2 separate regions of the Homo sapiens genome follow, and region 1 is linked to region 2. Evidence: promoter capture Hi-C in human tissues and cell types (Jung and others, 2019). All regions are on one chromosome and are shown on one strand. Each heading gives the region's core, a stretch centred on a gene start or on the middle of the fragment in contact. The rest is flanking DNA. Distances are from core to core; before and after follow the strand shown.

What was found. Contacts are between HindIII fragments. The study calls those that stand out against the background at their distance.
Region 1: a fragment that was not itself captured here is called in contact with the fragment with the promoter of ITIH3 in region 2 in 5 of the 25 tissues and cell types used here (IMR-90 fibroblasts, dorsolateral prefrontal cortex, heart left ventricle and 2 more).

The regions. Positions count from the first base shown.
Region 1 is chr3:52,903,338-52,907,926 of GRCh38, reverse strand. SFMBT1 (Scm like with four mbt domains 1) reads left to right here. Exons shown (of 21, transcript NM_016329.4): 18 at 194-372; 19 at 613-858; 20 at 1,686-1,814; 21 at 2,651-4,355. The coding sequence ends at 2,791. Among named protein-coding and RNA genes, the nearest start is that of STIMATE-MUSTN1, 8.1 kb to the right of the region's middle. The HindIII fragment of the contact is 5,171 bases long and covers 67-4,589 here.
Region 2 is chr3:52,792,205-52,796,414 of GRCh38, reverse strand. ITIH3 (inter-alpha-trypsin inhibitor heavy chain 3) reads right to left here and starts at 1,619. Exons shown (of 22, transcript NM_002217.4): 1 at 1,519-1,619; 2 at 792-812. The coding sequence starts at 1,611. RefSeq lists an enhancer at 1,132-2,021. The HindIII fragment of the contact is 27,249 bases long and covers 1-4,210 here.

The DNA.
Region 1 (4,589 bases), core at 1,403-3,902, 110 kb before region 2:
TACTTTGATATGGAGGGATCATTCAGTACTAGTCAAACCGTGCACTTCAGATCTGTTTATTCCACTCTATGGAATTTAAACCCCAATCAAATACAATGTACCTGTTTTTTGCTATGCTAATAAAATCTCTTGTGGTTTTGAGGTACACAAAAATAATGAAGCTACTTCATTTTTCTTTGTCATCCACATTTAGCACACTATTACGGAAAGAAGAAAAATAAAAGAATTGGGAGGCCACCTGGTGGGCATAGTAACTTAGCTTGTGCCCTGAAAAAAGCCAGTAAGAGGAGAAAGAGGCGGAAAAATGTTTTTGTTCATAAGAAGAAACGCTCCTCTGCATCTGTTGATAATACCCCAGCGGGCTCTCCCCAGGTATGAGATCTGTGATGTGCCTGTAATGTCTTGAAGCCAAGTGACCACTGCTTTATAGTATGGACACAGAATACCTGCAGGTCTTTCTAACTCAGATCTCTGGCCAATAGAAGATGGTTTTGTGGCCCAAGAACTGGTTTGTCCTGAATTTCTTTTCTTTCTTTATTATTTTTTTTTAATCATATGAAACCTGGGATTGATGTCCTGAATTTCAATGAGACTTCTCTCCTTTTCCTGCAGGGAAGTGGGGGTGAAGATGAGGATGACCCAGATGAAGGGGATGATGATTCCCTAAGTGAAGGCAGTACATCCGAGCAGCAGGATGAGCTACAGGAAGAATCAGAAATGTCAGAAAAAAAGTCATGCTCCTCTTCTCCCACCCAAAGTGAGATATCCACATCGCTGCCTCCAGATAGACAAAGGAGAAAAAGGGAGCTTCGCACCTTTTCATTTTCTGACGATGAAAATAAACCTCCTTCACCAAAGGTACCATTTAAAAAATAGTTTCTTTTTTCTTTCTTTCTCTCTGGAATTTCCATCTGGAATATGATTATTAGTGATATTGACATTCTACTTCTTTCAATACAGACTTATGTAGAATTTCCAGGGTCTCTTGTAAAGTGACCCCAAATGCAGTGATTTACATGTGTTTCAAGGATTAGTTGAGATCATCTACTTATAGGGGGAAAGTCTCTCTCAGAGTAGCTGCTTGTTTTAACAACAACAACAAAAAAAGCCCCATTGCTAGCTTATTTGTAGCTTGTCATTTATTTTTGGGAAAACTGCCTTTTTAATATGTTTCATAATATATATGGTTTTGTAGAAAAAAGTTATCCTTTTGATTCTGGTTAAGCCATTTGGCTTAATATATTATTTACTATATACATATGAACATTTTATAACATATGTATAACACTAAAGAACAATTTAGTGTTCAAAAACTAGATTGCTTTTTAAGAATATTCCATGAACAGAAGCAGTAAAGATTCCTCCTGGTAGTTTAGTTAAGCCTTCTCTCAATGGAATTATCATCCCCTTCTCTTCAGCACCCTGTTTTTCTTAGTTAAATTGTCTAAATTATCTGTGCTGGAACTTTGAGATAAATTCTTTCCCATTGATACTTCGTATTATAAAAGACAGACATTTCCTGAGTACCTGATGCACGTGGGTCTTTGCCATCTTTGCTGGGAGAAATCATGTCCTAAGACCACTTTAAATCATGTCTTGAAAGATTATGAATTTAGGTAGAGAGACTTTTTTAGAATAAAATAGCCGTAACACCATTTGGTTTGATTGTGTTGTGGGGAATGAAGGAAATAAGGATCGAAGTTGCTGAAAGGCTTCACCTGGACAGTAACCCCTTGAAGTGGAGTGTGGCAGACGTTGTGCGGTTCATCAGATCCACTGACTGTGCTCCATTAGCAAGAATATTCCTAGACCAGGTAATCACAGATACCTATAATTTTTAGTAATGTCTCTTTAGCAATAAATTATGGATGTAATAGTCAACAATTTATTTACAAGTTTTAGGAAAAATGTTTTGATCCAAAAGACAAGAATTGTCTTAATTCCATTTTTAGGAGTCAAAGATGATAAAAAGTTATTTATCAGACTTGCTTCATAGTTGAAGGAGATTATCATTGCATTCCAGTTTTTCCTAAGAATTTGATTCCATCCCTCCAATATCAAGCATACCATGCTTAATTGTCCACATCTTTTCAAAAATAATGATTTGCTTGTTTAAAAAAAAATAGCATCTGTCACATTAGGCTCTAGAGTGGTGATAAGTTTTAAGGCAAGCTTGCTGAAACACAGTCAGTGGCCTTAAACATTGAAATAAGTTTTGTTTAGAAAATTAGGGAGATTCAAGAGCTTATCGGGTTTTTATGAATGTTACAGAGTAGGAAAACATTGAAGTTGATAGTTAATCCTTTGTTTCAGATTTAGAAGGAACCCTCTAAAAAGATGGCACAATTAGTTGCCAGTTACAGGGCTAGTCAGTTTACTAAATTTCTATGGGACAGAGACTCTGGAATGGATTCTTATCCTTGGTAAAACTTTATTGTCCTCAGTAAAACTTTATTAATTCTGAAGCTTCATTAGTGTGGAAGACTATGGAGTCACTTAAAAGGAAGTGTGTGATACCTAAGACGAAAAAGTAAGGAAAGGAAAGCATAGGGATTCCAGTTTTGACAGAGCTAAAGTGAGGAGAGGCTGTCATGATCAAGCTGCCTTTCATGTGCACATCACAGATAATTTGTCTTTTATGCTTTAACAGGAAATTGATGGGCAGGCCCTGTTGCTCCTTACCCTTCCCACTGTTCAAGAATGCATGGACTTAAAATTGGGCCCTGCCATCAAACTTTGCCATCACATAGAGAGGATCAAGTTTGCTTTTTATGAGCAGTTTGCCAACTGAGAAGGACAACCAAAGTGAGCTGGATCTTTGAAGCACAAATGCAGCAAATCCTTCACCCTGCTTTATAAGTGGAGCTGGAATAGTCCTGGGGCTCTGGGGCCTGCAGGTATCAGCTTGCTCTCTTTGCACTTTCGGGGAAGGAGGACTCACAGTGAGGAAGCAAAAACTGTGCACAGAAGTGGATCACCTGCTGGTGGAAATGTGGACATCTCTTGTTCAGCAGATGGCAGTTTTTAAAAAATAAAGGTTGTGAGGAAAAGACTTATATAAGAAGAAAAGCATTTCCAGTGGTGTGGCCTGAAAACAAAGAATAACCTAGGCTGCTGGAAAGCACCCTTTTGGTTGTTTTCATTCTGTTCCCTCCCATTGTAGATTGAACTTTGTTCTCTGCTTTCTTTTTCTTGGAAAGAGAGGACTTAGCTTTAAGTCAGCACTGATTTGGGACTGTTCCTAAGGCATATCAGTGCTTCATTGTCATTGTGTTTTTAAACTTTTTAAAATTAAAACAGTTCATTTTGGGGATGATTATGTGGCTCTAGGGTTTTGAATGTATAGTCACACTTTGATCATTTTAAAATCGATTCTTAGGAGTTCCTTTGTTTACTACCTCTGTTGATAATTGAGCTTACAGCCATGTATGAGGTTTTTTGTATGATGCCATTTTTAAGCTACATAAACACTAAAATTATGACAGAATTTGGAGGGGGGGAAACTGTTTGCTTTCTTAAAAACATTATATGGGGCACTTACACCAGTTCCTTAACTGACCTGATCTGAGAACTCTACTGTTACTGTTCTCCATCTTGACCCAGCCGAGGCTGCCTGTGTTAAGTAACATCACCAAGACTGTTAGTATTTCTGTTTAATTGCCCTCTTCCTATTCATTCTCAGAGGGACTTCAGTGACTTTTATTTTGTGTTTACTTTTCTCTAGAGTTGTTTGTCTACCTCTGTTTCATTTCTAAGGTCTTTACTTTGGGTGAAAATCAGTAAGTGTTCCATGGACCCACAGCGAAGCCCATTTGTCCTTCTTTCCAGGTGTCTCCAGTGTAGAAGCACAGCACAGAAAACATGTTTTGGAGGGTAACGCAGAGCATGGAGTTTCTGTTAGCAGTGTCCTCAGTGGCAGGATAAATACTGAGATGTGGTTAAGGATTCTGGAAACCTCTTTGCCTAGCCACACTTAGACTTTTTTCAGCTAATCCTTTAAATTGAATATAATCTTTAGTCCGAGGATTCCCATTTAAACAACTCAGTATTCTTTTAAGTGTGTCTTTTAGCCCAGCTCAAGTTAACATGAAACTCCAGGTGAATTTTCACTTACTATTCCATTGCTAGCTATTATAGAATAATAGCGTTTGCTGCACTATTCTAGTCATGAGGAGTGAGGAAAAACATACATAGGTTGTCTCCCTTAAATGGTTTGCTTTGCTGAATTTTTTTTATCCTAATCACCTGCAAATTTATAACCCAATCATTCTTCCTCAAGATTTGAAAATGTTTTAATCCTGCAAACTGGGTGAATTCTAAACAGCTCTACAAATATAAGGAAATATTACAGCAAATTTTAACTGATTGTGATTTTTTTTTCCCATTCCCCACCACCCCAACCTATTTTTGTGGACATTGATGAATAATCTGGAGCCTCTCTTCATTGGGTAATTCATAAACCAACTTAACTCAAGCCCTGCAACTAAATCATACATTAAATCATTAACTCTTCACTTAGGTTCCTACCAGATCTATCTGGGAAGAAGCTTCATTTAAGTAAAAATTAGTATGTTTGAAACTTAGAGATC
Region 2 (4,210 bases), core at 370-2,869:
ACCTCCCTTGCAAACCCTTGGAGGCTCTGAGGCCCCTGCCCGGCACGCAACCCTCATCCTCCAGGTCTTCTACACTGGAAGACTTGGTGGCGTCTCCAGTCTCCATGTTCTGGTGGCCACCATTATTCAGATGCTTGTCCTGCCTCCTTAATTCTGCGATCCGTTTACACACCACTGCAGCCAGTGAGAGCTTGCCCTTTCCCGTCCAGTCACCCTGAGCTCCAGCTATGCGTGGGACACTGGCTCTGGAGCATCTGCCCCTGGCTCTTCCTGCTCATCCTCCACACCTCACACTCCCTCAAGCACACAGCCCAGCCCACCTCCTGGGTCTTTAGGTAATTGCCTCATTCTGTCTCCCAAAGAGGAACTGATTTCCTGTGCCAAGGGAAGTCTCCAAACACCCTCTTTCCAATAGGGGTGTTGAATTTTGAGAGGCTCTAGGGAGGTGTTCCAGCCCCCTCCCCCTAGGGATATAAAGATGCTTCGTGAGGGTGTGGCAGGGACCGCTTCACAGAGCCAGGTACCAGCAAGTGCTAAGGAAGTGTCTGCGGAAGGAAGGGATGCCTGTGAGGGGCCCTCTTGGGCTACATCCTGCGAGGTTGGAGGGGTCGTCACTCTGTGGTGCTCTTTCCCAGGAGTCCTGCGCTGTTGGAGGCTGCCAGGGCAGAGGGCCGTAAGCTGTTTGCCAGCTGTGAGGAGTCAGCTGTTATAGCCTACACCTTCAGCAGTTGGGGAACCAGCTCCATCCTGCCCTGCCCCACTCGGTCCCACCCCCTGGTGAAAGTTCTTACCCCTTCCGGGAGGCTCCGTTTCTGAAAAAACAAAAACAAACACAAACACAGGAATCAGGCCAAGGCCAACACCAAGGCCGCATGGCCTGGGAGGCTCTGGGCTGAGACCAGGGGTTCAGTGGTGCCCTGCCCCCCACACACCTGAGTGGCCCCCAGACATAGGACCCTCCAGAGCCACATGTCAGAGTAGGAAAAACTCTGAATAGATGGGGAAACTGAGGTCCAGAGAGGGGCAGGTATCCAGGTTACCAGGAGAGCAGGGCAGGGGGAACTGAACCCAGAGCTCTCTTCACACCCTACATGCCCCACCTCATTCTATCTCCCATTCTGCCTTTCCCTGGCCCCCAGGCCCCTTTAGGCCTCCTTCCAGAGCACCCCTGCCCCCGCCACACCCCGCAGGGCTCAACTGAGCATTTTGTAGAGGTCACACTCGTTTGAGACTTGAACCTTCATTGCCCCTCAGTGAAGTGAGCAGTTCCTGGTGCATTGCTCTTTTGACAGGTGGGGAAGCTGAGGCCCAGGGAGTTTTAAGAGCCTTCCCAGGGTTAGACAACAGGTTAGCATAGGCCTCAGCTGGAGCCCGGTTCTCCCAGTGTCCACACTACTCCCAGCAGCTCAGTGCCCAGCCCTCTGCCTCCTCTTCACTCCACTCAGAGGCCTTGCCCAGCATGATGCCTTCTGCCCATTCCACACCAAGACCCAGATGGCAAAGAGGGGGCAGACTCACCCCAAGCAGCCGAAAGGGGCTTCTCGGGAAGCCAGAGGCTGCCAAGCTGGAGAGCAGAGCCAAGATGAGACAGGGCCACCATGCAAATGCCATCGCTGAATACTCAGGCCTGGCCCACGCTCCTTATATGAGCAAGCCTGGTGTTTTCCAAGCAGGGTCAGTGACCTGCAGCGGGGGTGGGAGGAGTGGAGGCAGGAAGGGCCTCCGGGAAGCTGGGCATGGGTGGAATGACGGGTCCCTCGATGTGTCTGTCTGAAGAAGGCCTGGTGGGTCTTGCCAACAGCGTTGGGGCTTCATTCCTGAGAGACCGGGGGACTCGGAAGAGGCCCGCAGGAAAGCAGAAGCTGTGGGCCAACAAATGGACCCTGGGACTCCCTGGCGTGGATGATGGAGATGGGGTGTGGAGTTGCATTTAGGGCAAAGGGCATCTCAGCATTGTTGCCTCTTATCCCTACCACTGGGACAGCCTCTCTCTGGCCTCCTGGATTGCAGCCCCTCCCTTCTTGAGGCAGCCAGGGCGTGAAACTAGACTGTCACCTTCAGGCTGGGACCTCCACAGCAGAGCCCCTCGCTCACTACCCTTCTATGGCCCCCAAAGCCCCAGGGAAAGGACACACAACGATCCCGGAAGCCCAGCTGTCTCTGTGATCTGACCCCAGCTTGTTTTTCTGAGCTCACTCTCTTGCACCAGCACACCCTCCCCTTCTGCACATGTCACATCTTTCATCTCTCTGCCAGTCCCAGTGCCTCCCCTCCAGGACCCTTCCCTGGCCATCCCCTAGAGGACTATGGGACATCCCTGCTCCAAGCCCCAAGCCCCCTGAGGGCCTGCTTTGTCATGACCTTATGTTGAGGTGGATGTGCTCAGGTCTGCCTGCCCCCTCTGCACCCAGAGCTCCTGGGGGCTGGACCATGTCATGTTTCCCTCTGTGCTTCCAGGGCCCAGCCAGGGACTTGGCTGCCCTCAGCCTTTTGGGGAGTCATTGCCCTAAAAGTCGTAGTGAGGCTGGGCTCCAGCTTCCAGGACAACAGGAGCTTTAGAGGCAGGACCTGGTCTCAGTGGGGGCTGGGACCTCCTGAGCCACCTCAGGACCCTGCCAGCCTAGCCCCATCAGGGCAGCTGTTGCACACCCACCATACCCATGGCTTCTCTGAGCCAAGCTGACCCTGTGACCCTCCCACTGGGCAGCCCACTACTGAATGGAGTCGACAAGGACGGCTGGGTCCAGGACAACTAACTTATGGGGAGTTCAGCGGCCTCAGCTGAAAGCTCTGGTGCTGACTGGGAGATGTGCAGAGAGAGTTGTTGGGAGCAGAGGAACCAAGAAGGCAAAAGGCAGATGCCACGGGGCAGCGGAAGCCCTGAGGAGGGTGTGGTCTAATGGCTGGAAGAGGCAGCAGCCACAGAGCAATGATGGAGAGTTGCCAAATCAGCCAGGCACTATGGCTCTTGCCTGTAATCCCAGCTTTTTGGGAGACTGAAGCTGGAGGATCACCTGGGCCCAGGAGTTCGAGGCTGCAGTGAGCGCTGTGTTCGTGCCACTGCGCTCCAGCCCGGATGACAGGGCGAGACCCCCGTCTCAAAAAAAAAAAAAAAAATTGAAAAGAGGGAGTTTCCAAGCCAGTGAAATGATGGCCAAGTGGCAGATGCTGCCTGTGCTTGGTGTCTGGCTGGGCGGTGCCTGTTTCCCTCGGGCCTCCTGAACCCTTACACCAACCTCACTGGCAGCAGGCACCAAGCTCGGGCCTGATGGAGGCCAAACCCAGCAGGTGCTGGCGCCTGGGTGTGGAGAGAAGACCCCTCAGAGCTGCCGTGTCCTCATTTCCTGGCTTCTGGGATGTTTTCAGTCCTGTGGCTGCTGGCACTGGGTGGCTGGCACTGTTGCCCAATGGCTCCTCCTCACGGACCTGCAGCTGCCTGCAGAGCTTCTCCTGTACTCTCTCATCTGGACCACTGCCTCATCCCCAAGTGCCTGGAGTTTGGGGAGACGGACAACTCGAAATAGGGATTCTGTAGCTGCTCAAGCAGCCTCAAGGGATGGCTGGGGACTTGGAGGAACCAGAGTCGTCATGCAGACTTTATAATTAGACGGAATCTAAGAGATCTTTGGGTTCACCGCCTTTCCATTCTACAGGAGAGGGAGATGAGGCCCCCATTGGGCAGGCCTTGCCAAGGGTGACCCCGACAGCTGGCAGCTCACAGCTCTTCCTGGAGAACCCCAGGATACCTGGGAAGGTGGGCTGGCCGCCCCACAGCCTGCCGCTAGGGGCTCTGTGTTCATAGGGCCTGGGGCAGCCTTTGAGCTCAGCATTGGTGTTATTGATCCAGGCCCTCAAAACCAGTCCTTGTTCTGTCTGGTCCCTTGTGAGCCTCATTTATAGTGGAAACTGGACAGAAACTAGCAAGAAAAAGCAGAAAGCCTCTGGAAAGCAGTGGGTGGAGGCCTGTGCGCATTCACACACAGAGCTCTCTGACGTGTGGCTCACCTCCCTGCACCTGTGACATTGTGTTTTGACTGGGCCCCAAGGTCAAGCCAAGGGAGGGGACCCTGATGGGGTAATTCCAGGCATTCACATGAGGAGATGGTAGGGTGCCACTCCTGGCCCCCTGAAATCACAGCTTCTGGGCAGGGACCATCTCTGCCTTTGGAAAATACCAGCCTGGCTGCCAGACGTTACAAACCCTCAGCAG